Regions from separate parts of the Homo sapiens genome. Here regions 2, 3, 4, 5, 6 and 7 are each linked to region 1. The links are contacts of gene promoters, found by promoter capture Hi-C in blood cells and fetal thymus (Javierre and others, 2016). All regions are on one chromosome and are shown on one strand. Each heading gives the region's core, a stretch centred on a gene start or on the middle of the fragment in contact. The rest is flanking DNA. Distances are from core to core; before and after follow the strand shown. Region 1 holds the start of IPO8 (importin 8). Region 2 has its middle 20 kb from the start of FAR2. Region 3 overlaps DNM1L (dynamin 1 like). Region 4 overlaps FAR2 (fatty acyl-CoA reductase 2). Region 5 has its middle 46 kb from the start of FAR2. Region 6 overlaps FAR2 (fatty acyl-CoA reductase 2). Region 7 has its middle 6.0 kb from the start of DNM1L.

Evidence for each region. The method cuts DNA at HindIII sites, captures the fragments that hold promoters and counts their contacts. A CHiCAGO score of 5 or more calls a contact.
Region 2: a contact is called between a fragment that was not itself captured here and the fragment with the promoter of IPO8 in region 1, in 1 of 17 cell types (neutrophils). The highest score is 6.0, in neutrophils.
Region 3: a fragment that was not itself captured here is called in contact with the fragment with the promoter of IPO8 in region 1 in 1 of 17 cell types (activated CD4 T cells); the score reaches 7.2 in activated CD4 T cells.
Region 4: a contact is called between a fragment that was not itself captured here and the fragment with the promoter of IPO8 in region 1, in 8 of 17 cell types (neutrophils, non-activated CD4 T cells, naive CD8 T cells and 5 more). The highest score is 12.4, in neutrophils.
Region 5: a contact is called between a fragment that was not itself captured here and the fragment with the promoter of IPO8 in region 1, in 6 of 17 cell types (activated CD4 T cells, non-activated CD4 T cells, naive CD8 T cells and 3 more). The highest score is 12.6, in activated CD4 T cells.
Region 6: a fragment that was not itself captured here is called in contact with the fragment with the promoter of IPO8 in region 1 in 1 of 17 cell types (total B cells); the score reaches 5.1 in total B cells.
Region 7: a fragment that was not itself captured here is called in contact with the fragment with the promoter of IPO8 in region 1 in 4 of 17 cell types (non-activated CD4 T cells, total B cells, activated CD4 T cells and 1 more); the score reaches 9.0 in non-activated CD4 T cells.

The regions. Positions count from the first base shown.
Region 1 is chr12:30,694,457-30,697,254 of GRCh38, forward strand. IPO8 (importin 8) reads right to left here and starts at 1,413. Exons shown (of 25, transcript NM_006390.4): 1 at 1,108-1,413. The coding sequence starts at 1,191. RefSeq lists a silencer at 1,163-1,212 and an enhancer at 1,303-1,802. The HindIII fragment of the contact is 4,530 bases long and covers 1-2,798 here.
Region 2 is chr12:29,128,209-29,131,003 of GRCh38, forward strand. No RefSeq gene overlaps it. Among named protein-coding and RNA genes, the nearest start is that of FAR2, 20 kb to the right of the region's middle. The HindIII fragment of the contact is 5,194 bases long and covers 1-2,795 here.
Region 3 is chr12:32,691,962-32,694,789 of GRCh38, forward strand. The region is part of intron 1 of DNM1L (dynamin 1 like); the gene reads left to right. Among named protein-coding and RNA genes, the nearest start is that of DNM1L, 14 kb to the left of the region's middle. The HindIII fragment of the contact is 2,885 bases long and covers 15-2,828 here.
Region 4 is chr12:29,330,958-29,333,657 of GRCh38, forward strand. FAR2 (fatty acyl-CoA reductase 2) reads left to right here. Exons shown (of 12, transcript NM_001271783.2): 11 at 1,643-1,770; 12 at 2,675-2,700. Among named protein-coding and RNA genes, the nearest start is that of FAR2-AS1, 14 kb to the left of the region's middle. The HindIII fragment of the contact is 2,837 bases long and covers 1-2,700 here.
Region 5 is chr12:29,102,024-29,104,881 of GRCh38, forward strand. No RefSeq gene overlaps it. Among named protein-coding and RNA genes, the nearest start is that of FAR2, 46 kb to the right of the region's middle. The HindIII fragment of the contact is 3,674 bases long and covers 1-2,858 here.
Region 6 is chr12:29,303,187-29,305,974 of GRCh38, forward strand. The region is part of intron 4 of FAR2 (fatty acyl-CoA reductase 2); the gene reads left to right. The region is part of intron 3 of FAR2-AS1 (FAR2 antisense RNA 1); the gene reads right to left. Among named protein-coding and RNA genes, the nearest start is that of FAR2-AS1, 13 kb to the right of the region's middle. The HindIII fragment of the contact is 2,428 bases long and covers 244-2,671 here.
Region 7 is chr12:32,671,912-32,674,611 of GRCh38, forward strand. No RefSeq gene overlaps it. Among named protein-coding and RNA genes, the nearest start is that of DNM1L, 6.0 kb to the right of the region's middle. RefSeq lists an enhancer at 2,283-2,700. The HindIII fragment of the contact is 2,090 bases long and covers 295-2,384 here.

The sequences.
Region 1 (2,798 bases), core at 163-2,662:
TTCCCAACACGCAGCTTTTTAAAGTCAATTCCAACAGAAACATTTACTTAGGACAGTCACACTTCAGTCACACTTCGGGAGGCACAGAATCACCTGGGGGAGCTAGTTAAAATACAACTGGTCCCACCCCCACAGTTTCTGATTCGTTAAGTCTGGACTGAAGCCCCGTAATTTGCATAATTTGTAAGTTCTCAGGTGATGCTGAAGCTCCAGGTCCTGGGCAACGCTTTGAGAACAGCTGATTTTGGAATATTTACATTTTACAAGTCATCACAACCTAAAACAGCTGTTGCTCCATCCCAGTGGTAGCTCTTAATCCCTACTTTTTAGTAAGAGGTCTGTGATTCTTAAGTACCGGTAGGGAAGAAGAAATAAGCTGGAGTTTGGGATCATTAAAATTTTGAAGTGTGGGGGTAACGCTGGAAAGACGTCAAGGCTAATTAGGAAGAACAGGAGACGGAGAAAAGAAAGAAGTCTTACACATTTTAGCATTCATAAGAAATTTCTCCAACACATCTTACTTTGATGTGTCTTAGATAAAGCAGTATCACCATGAAAACTGCCTATTCTTCCCAGAGCACTCTCCCAACAGCACTGCCCAGCGCTCCGCAAAACTCGGCCAATCGGTGTCAAAACAGTCCTGCCAACCCGACAGGAGGAGGCGGTGGGCAGCGTGCTCCACAGCAACACCTAAAAAGGGCTGGGTTTGGAAAAAAGCTGAACTCAGATTTGAACTGTAAGTAAAATTCCCACCTGCTCCCCAAGTCCGCGCACTTAAGGAAAATAAATCACACCCTGAAAACACTAGCACAGGTTGCAAAAACTGCTTCTTGCGGACCAAGTAGGCAGAACAAACTGCCCTGGAGAAGGGAGACGACACGAAAAGGTGCAAAGGTGGCCAACAGGTGCGCGAGCTGTTCGGCAAAGATCCTGGGAGCCCTGCTCCACTGGACCGGGGGGCAGCGGGGTCGGAGAGCGGGACCAGCCGTGAGGCGTCAGCCCCAGCCCGGTGGGGGTGAGGACGAGGGGCGCCGGGGAGAGGGAGCCCGGCCAGCCGGCAGGGGCGCCCCTTCGGCGGAAGAGGGTCGCCGAAGACCCTCTCCTCACCTGGTTGAGCTCGTTCTCGGCTGCAATCCGCAACTTCGGGTCGATGGTGCCCTTCAGCGCCTGGATGATCCGGTTGAGGTCCATCTCCCCGGGTGGGGGCTCCGCGGCCCCCGGAACAGTAGGCCGGACTGCAGCTTTAGTTTTCTTTTGACCCTCTCAGCCTCCTCTTCCGCGACCCCTGGATTACCTCACACCCCACCCCCCGCCACCGTCGCCACCTGCGGCCACTTGCTGCGCCACTCTGACTCCGCGCCCCCTGTCCTCCCTTTTTCCCCCCCACAACTCGCTCTCCATTCACCGTTTTACGACAGCCGGTGGGAGGCGGGAGAAGGAAGAAGAGGAAGCAGAGCTTCCTTTACGGCGGCCTCTTCCCCCGGGCGTGATGCTATGACCGCCTCCCGTCGGCGGCCGCCATGCTGCTGTACGGAAAACGGCCTAGGCTTCTTTCCCGGAAAGGAACCCGCGCTCCCGAACTCAGGCAGGCGGCCGCTATGCTTCCGTACGGTAAACAGCCTCCCGCCTCTTCCCAGGTGAGGAAACTTGAGCTGGCCGGGAGTCTGCTTACAGCTGCTTCCAAATTAAGCATATCTGGATGGTGTGACACTTTTTGTTAGTCCGAGAACTGTATGGGCATCGCAACTGGGCCTGTTCCAAGATAGACTTGTTGGGACCTTCAAATCATGTACCTTACAGGAGGACAGGGTTCCTCCGTGTGTGGGAGTCATCGTTCATTCATTCATTCGCTTTCACTGAACATTTGTTAAACATATATTTTTGAACCAGAGTACTAGGATTTTTAGGTACCACATTATAACAAGATGAATTCCATGCAAGTTAATGTGAAGGAATTCACAACCTGATAGATGAGACAAATATAAACAAAAAAAATTTACAGTGTAGAAATGATAGGGGAGTGCTGGGAAGGGAAGAGCGTGGTCCCTTTAAATGATAGGGATGGGCGAAGTGAAGTGCTGGGTAGAGGAGTGTGTGGTCCCTTGCTAGGGCTCCACGCCCACCGACCTAGGTGAGGACTGACACTCCTGCCTTCCAGCCCAAATGTTGCATTTCCCAAGACCACCCTGGCCTGCCACTCCCCCATACTGTGCCTATGAAAACCCCAGACCCTAGCAGGCAGGTACACAGGCAGCCAGACGTCCAGAGGAGCATAAGGGTGGAAGAAGAGGAGCTCGCTGGCACATCCGCAGGCCATTCACGGGCAGAACGATGCGGAGGTTGGCCTGGGCAGTCGGAAAAGAGCCCGGGCCGCCAAGCGGCCTAACTCCAGAGGAAAACCATTTCCCTTCTGGGTCCCTCATCTGCTGAGGGCTACTTCCACTCAATAAAACTTTGCACTCATTCTCCAAGCCCACGTGTGATCCAATTCTTCTGGTACACCAAGGCAAGAACCCAGGATACAGAAAGCTCGCTGTCTGTGCGACAAGGTAGAGGGTCTAATTGAGCTGGTTAACACAAGCCCCCTAAAGGCAAACTGAAAGAGCATCCTGTAACACACACCCACTGGGGCTTCAGGAGCTGTAAACATTCACCCCCAGACTCTGTCAAGGGGTCGGAGCCCCACAGCCTGCCGGTCTGTATGCTTCTCTAGAGGTCTGAGCAGCGGGGCACTGAAGAAGCGAGCCACACCCCCAATGCACGCCCTGTGAGGGGGACAAGGGAACCTCTCCCATTTC
Region 2 (2,795 bases), core at 73-2,572, 1.6 Mb before region 1:
TGTTACCCTTGTGCTTTGTTCCTATTTTTGTCTTCTATACTTTTTCTGCCTTTTTTGGTTTTAATCGAGCATTTTATATGATTCTATTTTCTCTCCCTTATTAGTATATCAATTATACCTCCTGTGAAATAATAAATGTATATATTGGTCTGTTTACTGTCCCTGGCACAGAGCTCCAAAAACCCTTGTAATTTCCTGAGCAATAGAGATGCTAGGATAATTTTTTTTTCTAATGTTTGGTCTCTGCCCAATTCCTGAGATAGAGTTTCTAATATGTACGTAGGGGTGCTAGGATAATTTTTTGTTCTAATATTTGGTATTTGATCTTGTTTCCTGACATAAAGCTCCTAAAACTTCTATAATATCCTGAGTAATCGAAGCATAGGACACAGAGCTCCTAAATTCTTTTGAAATTCTTGGGTGACAGGAGCATCTTTTGTTTTAATGAGGTAACTCTTGGTGTGCTCCTGGATGGGTGCTGGTCACTAGGAAGACCAAACCATGATTAGCTTAGAGCTTTCAGCTTCATTCTCCATACCCCAGAAAGGAGAGAGAGGCCAGACATGGAATTAAAAATCAATCATGCCTACATGATAAAACCCCTATAAAAATCCCTGAACTATGAGGTTCAGAGAGCTTCTGGGTTGTCAAACACATCTATGAGCTGGAGGGTGATGCATCCCAACTGCATGGAGACAGGAGCTCCCTCCTGCATTGGGGCCCTTCCAGATCTCTCGCTATGCATCCCTTCATCTGGCTGTTCATCTGTGTCCTTGATTAAATCCTTTATTAGTAAAACCAGTAAACATAAATAAAGTGAAAGTGTTTCCCCTAGTTCTATGAGCTTCCCTAACAAATTAATTGAACCAGAGGAGGGTGTCCTGGGAACTCCCAATTTATAGCCAGTCAGTGAGAAGTAGAGGTGACAACCTACTGTTAGCATCTAGGAGTGGGAGGCAGTATGCGGCACAGAAACTTTATGGGCTATGACTCTAACTCCAGGGAGATCATGTCAGAATTTAATTGAATTATAGGACACCCAGTTGGTGTCTGCTGGAGAGTTGCTTGGTGTATGGGGAATATCCCCCTCACATCTGGTATTAGAAGGTTTGTGCTCAGTGTGTGAACACAGAAAATGCACTAGGTTTTTTCCTATCTTTATATTCCCTTTTTAACTTTTTTTGGTGATTGCCCTAGAGTCTACAACATATGCTTACAACTAATCCAAATCCACTTTCAAATATCACTATACTATTTCACAGGTAGTGTAAGTACCTTATAATAACAAAATATTCTCAATTCCTCTCTCCCATCCCTTATATCTTTGCTGTCATTTGTTTCATGTATACAGAAGCACACGCAAGCATATATATGCATATAAATTGAATACATGATTGCTATTATTTTAAACAAATTGTTATCTGTTAGATCAGTTAAGACTAGGAAAATGAAAGGTTTTGTTTTATTTTCACTTATTCATTCACCGATGCTCTTCCTTTCTTCATGTGGATGTGAGTTTCTGATCCATATCATTTTCCTTCTCTCTGAAGAACTTCTTTTAACATTCCCCTCAAGGCAGTTCTACTGGCAACAAATCCCTCATTTTTTTATTTGTCTGAGAAAGTCTTCGTTTTTCCTTCTTTTTTAGAAGGATTATATCACAGGGCACAGGATGTGAAGTTGGTGTGTCTTTTCTTTCAGCGCTTTAAGTAAGAGAGGATTTTTTCCTTAATATTTACTAGGAGGATATGAAAAGAGGTCCTTAAGGTAGAACTCACAAAATTGTGTTTCTGGGGGTGTCTTCTCCCTGGAGCTTTTAGCTCTTACACTTGTCAATACCAAGCCTCCAGCAATTCATCATTTATGGTTTAGGTTTTCCTACCCTGACACTGGTTCCCACACAGGTTTCTGCTCTGGTAAGTTGTGATTCTCTTATCTGCCCATCTGTCTCTCCAATTTTGAGGGTAGCAGTTTGCCCTGTGACCTCACTTCTCTGACATATCTAAGAAAAGTGATTGATTTTTCAGTTTGTTCAGCTATATACTGGTTAGGATGAAGTGGTGCCTCCCAACATACTTTTTAATTAAAATTTTTAAATATAATTTTGCATATGTGCATAAATACAACTAGATGATACCTCGAATTGTGTTTCAGTCTTTTTCTTTGTTCTTCCTTGCCTGGTAGTCCTCTCTCACTCCCCCACCCCCATGCATTAGTGCCTCTTTTCCAACAACCAAAATAATGTTAATAATCAAGTATGTATCCTTCTGATTTTCTGTATGCTTTTATAGACCTATATTTCTTTTTTTTTTTTTTTTTTTCAGACGGAGTCTCGCTCTGTCGCCCAGGCTGGAGGGCAGTGGCGCGATCTCGGCTCACTGCAAGCTCCACCTCCCAAGTTCACGCCATTCTCCTGCCTCAGCCTCCCAAGTAGCTGGGACTACAGGCGCCCACCACCAAGCCCGGCTAATTTTTTTGTATTTTTAGTAGAGATGGGGTTTCACCGTGTTAGCCAGGATGGTCTCGATCTCCTGACCTCGTGATCCACCCGTCTCGGCCTCCCAAAGTGCTGGGATAGACCTATATTTCTCTCTATATATAAACATATTGAAAGTTTTTTGACAATGGTTTAAAGGCAACAAGGTCATATTATAAATGTCTTTCATATTGTTACTTTCTTCGCAAGCTAAACCTCATGGAAATTAGTGCAATCCAACTGACAAAGTTATAATTAATTCATTTTAAGGTCTGCATAATAGGCAATAGAGAGAATATGCCTTTAGTCAATTCAGTGG
Region 3 (2,828 bases), core at 207-2,706, 2.0 Mb after region 1:
GGAGGAAAAAAAAAAGCTTTCTTAAACGGGAAAGAGAATCAGACTGGCATTAGATTCCAATCTGTCACAGTAAATGTTACTGCATGGAGAAATGTTTAATAGAGTTCTTAGGGAAATTGTGATTATAAAATTCTGTATTCATTCATACTATAACCATTTTCTCTTTTTTTCTTTTTGGGTGGTGATATATATTTTAATTATTTAAAATTTTGCTCATTCCATTCTATAGAATAAGATTTACATTTAAGCAAAATTAATTAAAATCTAAGCAGAGAGATCAAGTTAAGCACAGGCTCCAGGAAGTCCTGCTGGGATCTCAGGAATAGCGACAACATGTTAAAAGTTTTAGTTTGAATGTCTGGAATTTGTTTGTTTGTTTGTTTGTTTTGGTGCATTCTAGAGTCTCCAAGAGTCAGTCACCATGAGTACCCGTGAGGTAGATGATACTTATTTTAACAGCACCTAAACTGGGGTTTAGGAGCTATATTTTCCAAGAAGTGACTCAGTCTAATTCTGAAATGACAAAAGCAGTTCATATCATTTTATTCACACTTGAACTCCACTGGAGTCAGGGATGAAATGTCATCTTCTATTCCAAGAATGAAGTCTTCAGATAATGTCCAGGTGCTTCAGAACTAACTAGTCATCATAAGAACACAGAGTCCATAATTTCTCCAATGTATAGTTTTTTGTGGTTTCTAGAAGCATCAAATGAATCACAGTGCTACCAAACTCCACACAGAACTAGTCACAGTGTCCTTCCTATCCATCTTAACATTAGGCTCATTTTTACATTTCAGGTATTTGTACATTTTCATAGTATAATAGGGATATATCAGGTGGAAGTTCCACTCACTATCAGTCACAAAGTAGCTGTAATCTGTATATATGTTTTTACACAGTCATGTGAAATTTATTTATATACACACATATAATCCCAGTTTGTTCACTTATACTGCTATATAATGGTCCATTATAGGAATATATCCTGTTGAAATTTGTGTGTTCCCCAGTGTTTGCTATAGCTGTTTTTGTAAACAGTGGTACTGCGGATATTCATATAAATGTCTCATGTTTGAGAATTTCTCTAACGAATCAAGGAGTGGAATTGCCAGACTGTAGGGTATATTTATTGGATATTGCTATTGCTTCTCAGGATGGCTGTAATTTACATTCCCATCAACAGAGTGAAGTTTATTTATATCTGTACTTTCTATAGTCACATTTTAAATTTATGGTACCTCATTGTGGTTTCTATTGCATCCTCCTGATTACTAGTGAGTGTGAGCATCTTATCATGTTTCTTGGCTCTTTGAGGTTTTGTTTTGTGAGTTTTTGTTGATATCTCTGCACATTATTTTGTTAGGTATTTTTAAGAATTTGATTTGTGGGAGTTATTTATACATTTTGGTTACCAGTTACTTATGGATCACAAATGTTTTCCCTGAATTTTTTCTGTGAGGAAAAGAAGTTTTAATTTTATTGTGGTTGAATTATCTTTTCTTCTGTGGTTTTGTACATTTTGTATATTGTTTAAGAAGTCATTCTCCTTTATTTTGTTTTTTAACAGCTTTACTGAGATACACTCTATACCATAACATACCCATTTACAATGTGTAATTCAGTGTTTTTTTTAGCATATTTATAGAGTCGCACAACCATCACCTTAAACTTTTCTTTTTTCTTTTCTTTTTAAGACAGGGTCTCACTCTCTTGCCCAGGCTGGAGTGCAGTGGCATGACCATGGCTCACTGCAGCCTCAATCCCCTGGGCTCAAGTGATCCATCTGTCTAAGCCTCCCGAGCAGCTGGTACTACAGGCATGTGCAACCTTGCCTGGCTAATTTTTTTATTTTTTGTAAAGATGAGGTTTCACCATGTTGCCCAGGATGGTCTTGAACTCCTTGGCCTCAAGTGATCTGCCTACCTTGGCCTCCCACATTGCTGGGGTTACAGGCATGTGCCACCTCGCCTGGCCTTTCCATCACCTTTAAACTAATTTTAGAATATACCATCATTCTAGAAAGAAACCTGGTATCCATTAGTAGTCACTCCCCATTCTTCTTCACTCTGTCCCTAAACAGCCACATAATCTACTTTCTAGCTATAGATTTGCCTATTTTGGACATTTCTCTTTTTTTGAGATGGAGTCTCGCCCTGTTGCCCAGGCTGGAGTGCAGTGGCACAGTCTTGGCTCACTACAACCTCCGCCTCCTGGGTTCAAGCAGTTCTGCTGCCTCAGCCTATCCTGAGTAGCTGGGACTACAGGTGCGTGCCACCTTGCCCGTGTAATTTTTGTATTTTTAGTTGAGATGGGGTTTCACCATGTTGGCCAGGTTGGTCTCGAACTCCTGACCTTGTGATCCGCCTGCCTTGGCCTCCCAAAGTGCTGGGATTACAGGCGTGAGCCACCGCGCCCGGCCATATTTTGGACATTTCATATAAACAGGGTCAAATAATATGTGGTCTTTTGTGACTGACTAACTTTAACTTAGCAGAATAATGTTTTTAGATTCATCCATGTTGGAGCGTGCATCGGTACCTTATTCCTTTTTATGACTGAAGTATAAAATAACTTTTATAAGACTAAACATTAGTCTTGATACCTCTAGTGGATTAAATATCCATATTAGGGATCCTGGGAAGATGACAGCAGTGGTAGAATAGTTTCCTAAATATCTATATGACTTTCCCCTAAAACAGAACAAATAGGATAGGAAAACCAAAAACACATAGAAAATGTGTACAAGAAAATTAGTTGACTATGTTTCTCTACAAACGCTCAAATACCAGCAGATTGGGAACAAACCATTGTTATCCATACTGGAA
Region 4 (2,700 bases), core at 112-2,611, 1.4 Mb before region 1:
GGTGTTCAAAATTAATATTTAAATTAATTTGACCTAAATTCTATAATTCATTAATAGCAAGTATTTATTGAATGTCTACTTTGTGCCATTCAAAGGAACATCATTCTTGTTGTTCTAGGAATATCATTTATTTGAATTAAGCCATTTTAGCTATTAAAGTCCTTCCTAGTGAGGCCTCACCAGAAGTTAAGTAAGTTAAGAGTAACGAGCAACTTTCTTTCACTGTACGTGAAACTCTCCACTAAAGATAGGCTTTTTTTTTTTTTTAATGTCCAGGGATGAATAGACAAAAAGTGATCTGAGAGTGCTGTATGTCCAAGGAGAGAGAAGAGTGCCCAATTGGAAGGACAAAAGCACCTTAAACACACCCTCCACTTGCTAAGATTTATAAATATTAGACTTTTTAAATGCTAGCACAAGTCCATTTTCCAGGCCATTCTCTCCAAATACATGAAATAAAACTCTATTGAACCAAATCCACTCACTGATGCAATCTTTTATTTGATAACAGGGTCATACCAAACTCTCCAAGAATACCTAATACTTGAAATATTTCCAGAGATGATACCAGAATCTTCTTGACACTCTTTCTACTAACAAGTTTTAGTGCCCTAAGTTCTTTATATTCAATCAAAACTATTTTTTCTAATATATTTGAAGATCATTTCCCTCCCTTTCTTTCTCCAATTAGGCCCTTTATATGGAGATTTTGAAAAGATCCCTGGATGGCTCAAGAATGACCTATCAGGTTTCTCTTCCTAACTCATCCTATCTCCATTTGTAATCCATATAAATCTGGGCCACCTCCTGATCCTGTGTCAGCTCAGCATCATTTTCAAAGTACACAAAAAATAAAATCTATGGAATGCAATTCAAATCTTTACTCCAGCTTTTCCATAACAAACCAAAAAAAGAATACATTTTTGGTTATGCAAGTGTTTTTCTTTTCTCTTCCTCAAAGATACCTTAAAAATTTTTTAATCATTTTTCTTTATTGTCACTCTCTGTATCTGTCTTCTATGTGGCACAACTTCTCTCCCTAAACAGATCAATCTCTTCCTTCTCCTTCTTCCCTACTCCTCCCCCATGTTGTGATCACTCCTTTTTTCTTTCACTACCAATCACTCTCTTCTTAAATATAAATTCTGGTAACTTATTCCTTAAGGCTTTGCTTCCCAAAGTTTAATCTGCATAATGAAATGGTAATGCTGTAGGAAAGGATGGTAGAACAAAGGGATAACACCAAAATTTAAGAGGAAAGGGAAAGTTGCATCATTTATGTTTTGGTCACTAACATATTATTCTATCACTTTTAAAAATAATTACTCCTCGGTTAGCTGAAATATATACCAAGCCAACCATAAGTTTTCACCAGACTATGTAATACTATTTCCTTTAAATCTCCCTCACAAGAAATGTGAAGTGTTTGTGTTTGATCCATGTTTAAATATTCCTATGTAAATAGTAATCCATATTATCAGTACCTTTGAAATAATGACTCAAATAATCTCTCCTTTGGAGAGGGTCCAACCTATGTCTCCCAAATTGAAGGTCACTCGTCTATGTAGAAGAAACCTCAAGTGGACAAAGTGACTGTCCAGCACTGCAATTCTGGCAATCTATAATCTCTCTTGCCTCTCAGGTATTCAACTTTGACGTGCGCCAGTTGAACTGGTTGGAATACATTGAAAATTATGTTTTGGGAGTTAAAAAATACTTATTGAAAGAGGATATGGCTGGGATCCCAAAAGCAAAGCAACGCTTAAAAAGGTAAGTATAATCAGTCAGTTAATATTTATTGAGCACCTACTGTGCATCGACTTTATACCAGACATAACATTTGTGCAGAGGAGAATGAACATTTCTTGAGCATTTACTACATTACAGGTCCTGCACTCCATACTCTACCCTGTAACACAGTTTCATTTAGACTTCACCACACCTCTATGAGGCAAGTATTACTTTTGTTACCCCATTTTTATGAGGCAGATATCTAGATTTAAACACAGCAAATAACTTGCCCATGGTAATTGCATAGTAAGTCTAAGAGCCAGATTTGAACCCAAATTTGTTTCTTCTACCACACTCTGTCATAATGGGATATAAATACCCAACAGGCAGGAGACCTGATTATGCTATTTAACCTAGAAAAAAGTCACTCCTCAATTTTTTCAACTTTCTTAAATTTCTTTCAGTCGTAATCCCTGAGGGACAAGGAATTCTAGCACTCTGGTATAATCCTGGTAGAAGCAGAGGATCTGTAGTGCAGAGATGATAAGGATAAAAAAGTAGCTTGCAAAACAGGAAGGAGGAACCTTGAATAGCAAGCCAAGAACTTTAGAATTTACCTTCTAATGAACAAGAACCAGTGAAGATTTATGATGTGGTAACATGACCAAAGTATATTTACAAGATTATGCTAGTCATGCTTGTAAATAGTTTCAAGTGGAGAGAGGTATAAGAGAAATTAGGGAAATATGGTAGAAATCTGACTATTCAGCAAGAATGCTGTGGAAATGAAAGACGCAGAAACCAATTGGCCAAGTTATATCAAATACTCTGAGCACTTCATAAATACTTGCCAGTCATATCCAGGAAAACACATATTTATCTTCAGATAATGTGGTTGGGTATCTGGTAGTTTTAACTTTGGTTATGTCTGTCTGTTCCCTAGGCTCCGAAATATTCACTACCTCTTTA
Region 5 (2,858 bases), core at 41-2,540, 1.6 Mb before region 1:
TTGAATACCAGTTCTTCTAGATGTGTATTTTTCAAAGGTTTTCCCCCAGTCTGTGGCTTGCTTTATTCTCTTAACATTATCTATGTAAAGCAGTTTTTAATTTAAAAAATCTAGTATACTAATTTCTTCTTTAATGGATTGTGTTTTTCATGCAGTATCTAAGAATTCATGGCCAAACCGTAGTTAATCTACCTGTTTTTCTGCTGTCTGCTGGGAGTTTTATAGTTTGGTGTTTGGCACTTCATTAAAAAAAATAGTGTTTTCTACTATATTTGTCGTGATATCCAAAAATTCCCCACAAAAAATAAAAAGTCTTTTCTGACTAGTTATTTTCTACTTCTTCTATGGATTTAAATCGTTTTAGTCTACTAGCTTATAAAAATGAGTATTTTCCCTTGAAACAATTTTTATGTGCTTTTGGCTAAATGCATAGTTTACAAATAGACTGCAGATGAGCTAAAGATAAAGAGAACTGTTATCTTCATAATAATAATAGAAGTGCTTCCTGGTAAAATTTGCCCTGTAATCGTAGTCATCTTTAGAATGACTAAGGGATTGATTCTATCAAGAAGCCTATAATTGCTCAGGTCTCATCTTCAAGGTTAGGACAGACCACTAGGTTGGGTAGAAGAATATAGAGTAGTAAAGTGGAGGGGGTTTTTAAATGTTGTTTTAAACTCCCATATTTTGAAACATTTGCAAATAAATCAATTTTTAAATATAAAACAAACAAATAAAATTACAAAATTTAAATACATCAAAATGATAGAAAAAGAAAACTACTAAATACGTTAAAAATAGGTTGAATACAATGAAACTCACACCTGTACTTCATTCCATTGTCATCAGCCAGTCAAGGAAAGATACTGTGAGATCTTATGAAGCCAGCCAAAAAGAACTGCGGTTTTATTCATCAACTCTGGGCAGTGAAGCCTTTCAAGTACTGATAGGATCTGTAGCTACTGACTACATCAAATATTTTTTATCATCAGTTAACACACTGCAGAAATAATGATACCTACTTTGCATTTTCCCTATGTGTAACTTAACACAAGGTCATGAAAACTATACAACTTTGCATTTTGGAAACCAGGGTACATGTCAACAAGGGCAGGATTTCTTTTGCAGAAAACAACTAAGTTCCCTTTGCTGTTTTCATTTTGATAGGTTTTTTTCCTGAGTCCTTGCTGGAATAAAAACGATCATTTTTTTACAGTATTAGATTGGAATGAGTGGTTATATTTTTCAGAAATTTCATTGATATTTCTTACTACATTTCTTTATTTTGCTGTTTATTATGTGATGATAGTGGTTAATATTTATCAAGGGCTATATAATACCAAGCACTGTGCTATGCAATTTGCATTGATCATCTTGTTAATTTTCATACTAACTGATAAGACAGCTTTATTTTTATTCCCATTCTACACATGAAGGAAGACTCTACACATGAGTCTTGGACTTTAATGATTTGCCTGGAGTAACACAGGCAAATTCAAACCCAGGCCCTCTGGCTTCAAACCCCATGCCTTACGCTGTCTCATTGCAATATTTTCTTATGAGTGTTATGAAATTGAAACTGAAACTCAGTGATTATCACCAATATCTCCAAATTTCTAACCGGTTTCTTGCTTTCAGGGTTGTTCCTCTCAAGTTTATCCCATGCACAGCTACCACTGCGGTTTATCGAAAATGAAACCTACTCATGTCATTTCCTGCCTCACACATTTCGAGGCTTCTCCATGTTCTACAGAATAAGATCTAAGATCCTTAGCACAGCATCCAAGAGCCTCTCTGTGCAGGCCCCTGCTTCACATCCCTCAGTTCCCCCTTCCCACATTTACATTGTCACCATAGGGAACATCTTGTGCCTCCTCACACACACTCCACAGTCTTTTACCTTGTTTCTGAATCACACAAGCTATTGTTTTCTGCATGCATGGTTCTTCCCCACACTACACCAAAGCCTCTTTCCATCAGGGAAACATTTCCTATTTGTCTCCAAGAATCCTTCTCTTACCAAACATTCCCTTGCCCTCTACACTTCATTGGTTGATGCTTTCCCCTCTGCACTAGCAGAATATCCCCTAGAATTTTATTTATGACACTATATTACAGTAATAATACTAATGTCAGCATCTCCCACTAGACTATGGGTTCTTCAAAGGCAGGATAGACCTCACTCACTTTTAACTATGTATAGATCTTGGATGATGAAGAAAGAAGGCCAGTGCTGAGAGCTAGGAGAATGATCGAGTTATTAGCCCTACCTTTGGATGGTTCTCCATTACCATGTATCACTTTAGGTGCTTTTGGTTTGCTACCAAGAAAACCAAGGAGTAGAAAGAGGGAAGCGCAGTGGCTCCACTTCTCACCTGAGCCTAGTTTGAGGTCTGCAATTCCTGAGACATTACCAAGGTTCTTTTGTGTTTTCAGCTCCTGAACAGTTTGCTGTAGGTGGGACAGATCCTAAAAGAATCGTGTTAAGTGTATTAATGTTCCATCTAGTCTCAAAATAGAACCAGGAGTTAGGAAACATGTTGATCGAGGCAGTGAATCAGTGTTACTAAAAACCTTCAATTGCATCATGACTTTTTAAGAAAAATGTGAATTGAAAATGCCCATGTTTTATTTCACACCCATGGCTTTGCTCATAGTTGCCAAGACATAGATCTCAATACAACAGGCTTCCTGTTTCAATTCGAAGTAGTCTGGTAAAGAACAAAACAGTCATGTCTTGTAAGATACAGAATTATTTCTCCCTCCAATTATTTTTACAATGAAGTGTGATCTAATGCCACTGTCTCCCCTTTTGCAGACCTCACACTGTTCATTTATTTTTTGGTCTCACTAAGTCA
Region 6 (2,788 bases), core at 208-2,707, 1.4 Mb before region 1:
ATTATCAGACTCTTAACTCTGCAGATGTATTTAGTGATTCTAAAATGGTACCCAGGAATCTGGATTTTTCCCAGGGGCCCTGTGTAATTCATATTTATGAGCAGGCAAGTTTGGGAAAGACTACCTTAAGGAGGTTTTTCACTGAGCAGTCTTCATTTGAAATGAGGATCATTTATCTTCTTTATCTCTATGCTCCCTCTTTCTCCTGCTCTCCTTGCCTCCTGTTGTCTTTCAGTTCTTAGAAGCTTTAATGGAAAGTTCCTAGTAGATCTGTACCTACTAAAAACCATGCTTCTGAGGCTACACAGTCACCAGAAGACACAGCTAAGCTGCCATGTGAAAAAGGAAAGGTGGCGTGTGCACTGAGGGTGCAGGTGTGAGAGGCAGGGGAATGGAGGCCCCCACAGCCAGCAGCAGTGGCCCTTATCACAGTCCTCTGGGAGATATGAAAGGAGGTCAGATGTTAGAAAGTAGTCTTTTTTGCCTTCGTGCTATAGAACACATTGTTAACACTAAAAAAGCTGACCTCTTCTAGGGGAACGGTGAAAGCTGATTCTAGCACTTGTGCTTTTAATTTCAGGATGGCACAGCTTCAAAATGACATCTATGTAGCTAAGTAAAAATGAGAATTCTGTGTACTTTGATATTAGCAGGCTTTAAATTACAAACCAGAATAAGATTAAATTGTTTCTTAACCAAACTGAGTAATTTTCAAATGGCAGGCCATTGGCAGGGTATTCAGCATCTGGCTCATGTTTGAGCCTGGCTAGGTGCTCCGTAAAAGTCTTGAGGGAAATACAGAGGCCAATTCTCCATAAGCATTAGGCTCAGAAATACCCTGCTTCCCACTGGAAAGTTTAAGTTGACCTTGAAGCCACCTTCACCAAAACGAGGTTGGTCAACACTTTTCACCATTGCCACTGGACACTTTACTTCCAATTTTGCTTCCTGCTCTAAAAGATAACCCCTTCCTTCCTTTCCCACATTCTCCCTACAACCTCGTCTTCTTTTGAGTTCATCCACTTTCTCTCATCATTGTCCATCTCTGCTTCCCAAAACCTTACATAGTATAGAAATTGGCCAATCAAGATTATCATGTGGAAGAACATGCATTTACTGAATAAGGCAGCTGGCTCCTGGGGGCAGAAAGGTGATTAGACACAGTGATAAAAATCATAATCCCTGATCTTCTGGACTCACTGTCTGTCCAGTGGGGAGACAGACACATAAGCAAATACAACTTGATAACTACAACAATCAAGAGAATGACATAATCTACCCTGGAGAAAGAGAGAGCAAACATTATCATAAGACAGTGTGTCCACTACTTACTCTCTAACAGATTTCCTGATAAACTACTAGGCTTGCCCACTTGTTGCATAAGAAAATTGAGGGTATCAGGGGAGGGGAAATACATATGCCTCTTGGTAATTCATTCAGTAAATACATAAATAAACCATTAATGATATAATCATGTTGATTCAATAAGTTTGAAACCAAAATTGATAATATTTAGAAGAAATTGTGTATGTGTGTATATGTGAACACACATAGACATATACATACTGCTTTCTGAAATTTTCAATGACTTTATGCTTCTTCTGAAGCAATTCAAGTTTAGAATTTGAGACCCATGGGTTCAAAACATCTTCTTGAGTATACTGGAGGACATTTAGATTAATTTCAGACATGTATTTTGGTTTATATGTGTTTTTTATCTATGCTAACTTATTTACTGTTTTAAAAACAAATTGAGAACAAACAGCAGCAGCAACCCTGAATTGAGTGTTTAAGTCCTAAGAATGGCTTGGCCCAACCAGTGGATGTGCATGTTTATTACACTAATCTCCTCTGAACCTAGGAAGTGGCTGGATGAGCTTCAGATGGTCTGTTTGGCTGTATTATAAGTGATATTTTATTTTTATTTGTTTTATTTGTTTATTTTTATTTTTATTTATTTTATTTTTTTGAGACAGGGTCTCTGTCACCCAAGCTGGAGTATGGTGGCACAATTATGGCTCATTGGAGCCTCCAACTCCCAAGCTCAAGCAATCCTCCTGCCTCAGCCTCCTGAGTAGCTGGAACTGCAGGTGCACACCACCATGCCCCATTAATTTTTTTACATTTTTTTTGTAGAGGCAGGGTGTTATTATGTTGCCCAGGCTGGTCTCAAACTCCTGGACTCAAACGATCCTCCTTCCTCAGCCTCCCAAAGTGCTGAGATTACAGGTTTGAGTCACCGCACTTGGCCAGAAATGACACTTTAAAACTAACTATTACCTACAAAGATGCATGCTCACTGGTTGTTTTATTAAAAAATAACAATGCCTTAGGTTTATTGGCTCATTTTGTTTTATCAAAGAGCTTAAATGCAGTTGTGAATATTCCTGTTTACCCTTATGATAATTTAGAATGAGTATAATTATTGCCATTTTCACAAGTACAATTGGAACTAGGTAATTTATATTCCTGTTTACTCTTATGAGAATTTAGAATCAGTATAATTATTGCCATTTTCACAAGTACAATTGGAATGAAAAGATAAAACAGTGGAATACAGGTGTAGCTGAGAGTAGCAGAGGCAAGTCATCTATAGAATATTAAAATTTCTTGCATGCGTGCTGTCAGAAATCTACGAAACCAAAATTTTCTAAGACAAGCAAACTCACCAAGCTTTATAAGGCCCCTATCCCCCCAAATATTATCCTTTCCATGTACCCCAACATTAATGACAGCAACTGGTACTAGCCATGTGACATACAATCCCTGCACATTATTGGGCTCTGAT
Region 7 (2,700 bases), core at 90-2,589, 2.0 Mb after region 1:
AATAACTCTATTATCTCAAATAGTTTCTAAAATATGCCACAAATTTTGATGGTAGGAGGATAAAAAGAAGGGCTACGTTCTATTGGGGTGTGGGTGTGGAGCAAAGGGAAGAAATCAGGACCATATCTTAACTCCCAAGTTATTTTGTCGTTAACTGCTCTTAATTGTGTTGTCACACTGCCCTCTCATGGTCCCGTCAGTATCTCACCAGATTCAATTTCTGGCTTCTGAACCATCTGGCCAATTCCACCATCTGCAAACAATTTCCTGCACCTGCTAACAAAGTATGTGTTAAGCTTGAGGCCTGGGGAGTAGCAAATTGATTAAAGCTGTTTACTTTATCATCTTTGCAAAACACGGGCAGTTTCCAAAATATGACAAAGAGGCTTCCCCAACAGAGCTGTATATTTTATATTAACATTAGATCCCCACTAACCGCTATGATTTGAAGGTGCAGATACCGGCATCTTGGCTGTGATTGATGATCAAAATGTTGGCATAAAATGATATTGGACACATGCGATAAAAACAGTCTGACCTTTTCCAAGATCGATTAATTTCCAGTTATTAATTTAATCCAAAATAAACTTCCTCTAATTCGGGATTTTAAGTTAGAACAAAGCCAGGCTACTCCCTAGCTAAGTAACTTGGCATCTATTCTAATGAGGAGTCCTATGCCAAGCCAGACTCATATGTGTTGGTGAGATTTGATTGCCAGTCCTGGTTGCAATTATATCAATTCAGAGCTGCTTAAATCCTTGTTATTCCAGATTTTCCAAATAAAAAAGAAAAGAAAACCCCATATCCAGTAGACTAATATTATGTAACACGCTTCATACGAGGTAGTGGGGGAACCCAGCTAAATAAGATAATCACTTCTGCCCTTCGTGAGCTCACTATTGGTGAAGGGGGAGGGCATGTTAGTGCCATATCCACGGTTCCTCCCTACTCTCCAGCAAAATATACTGCCTGGCTAAGATCCGTATGCCTAACAAGTACTTCATCAATATGTGTTGAATTAATGAAGAAAGGAATAAATACACGAGGCAGAATGTGTAGCGGTTGAGAGTTTGCTGCCGGGCATGGTGGCTCACACCTGTAATCCCAGCACTTTGGGAGTCCGAGGCGGGTGGATCACCTGAGGTCAGGAGTTTAAGACCAGCCTGACCAATATGGTGAAACCCAGTCTCTACTAAAAATACAAAAATTAGCCTGGCGAGGCGGTGTGCGCTTGTAGTTCCAGCTACTGGGGAGGCTGAGACAGGAGAATTGCTTGAACCTGGGAGGCAGAGGTTGCAGTGAGTTGAGATCGCACCACTGTGGCGACAGAGTAAGACTGTTTCAAAAAAAAGAAAAAAAAGGGGGTTTGCCAAAAAGCCCCTTTTCATCCCATCTCTGCCACATACTAGCTGTGTAAATTTACCACTTCACTTCAATCCCTGGAGCCTCCGTTTCTACATCTCTAAACCTACTTCACGAGGCTCTGATAAAATGCTTAGTATAGTGCCTCACATACAATAAGCACTTAAATAATAGTTCAATAATATTGTGTGAAAAGGGCAACAAGGAAAAATGGAGAAATTCATATGGTTAACTATGGGGATTAGAATTCTGATGTTATGTGCTGTACAGCACATGTACATTTAAAAATATGGGAAAGTTGGCCAGGCGCAGTGGCTCATGCCTGTAATCCCAGCACTTTGGGAGGCTGAGGCGGGCAGATCACGAGGTCAGGAGATCAAGACCATCCTGGCTAACATGGTGAAACCCCATCGCTACTAAAAATACAAAAAATTAGCCGGGTGTGGCGGTGGGCGCCTGTAGTCCCAGTTATTCGGGAGGCTGAGGTAGGAGAATGGCGTGAACCCAGGAGGCGGAGCTTGCAGTGAGCTGAGATTGCACCACTGCACTCCAGCCTGGGTGATAGAGCAAGACTCTGTCTCAAAAAAAAAAAAAAATATATATATATATGTATATATATGGGTAAGTTACTGAATTTGGGGAAGTTCTTCAAGGTGAATAAAGAAGTTTATTCTTGCAAACCAATTTATTCCATGAGATAGGAAACATGATCTTTGGAGACATTGACTCACATGCTTACAGTTCTATAACCAGAGAGAGAAAATATTTTTGTTCAAATTCAGGTTAGGAAATTCTCAGAGAAGGATTCTAAATGGTCCTGCAGGTCCATCCCTAGACCAATCACCTTAACCAGGTGCAGTAGGCCCCTCCAATAAGTCCATGTCCTAATCCCTGGAGCCTGTGAACTTTATGTCTCAGGAGAGACTCTGTAGATGTGATTAAGGGTACAGGCCTTGAGACAGGGATATTATCCTGGGTTGTCCAGGTTGGCCAATCTAATGATGGGCCCTTAAACACAGAGAAGCTTTTCTGGGGGTCAGAGGCCTGATGACAGCAGAAGAGTTAAAGAGATGCGACATTGCTGGCTTTGAAGAGGTTGGAAGGAGGTAACCAGCAAGGAATGCAGGGGGCCCCTAACAAAGGCAAGGAGGTGAATTCCCTGCTAGAGGCTTTAGGAGGGTTTGCAGCCCTGGTGACACCTTGATTTTAGTCCAGTGAGACCTGTGTGAGACTACTGAACTATAGAACTGTAAAACAATACTTTTTTTTTTTTTTTGACATGGAGTCTCACTGTGTTGCCCAGGCTGGAGTGCAGTGGCGTGATCTTGGCTCACTGCA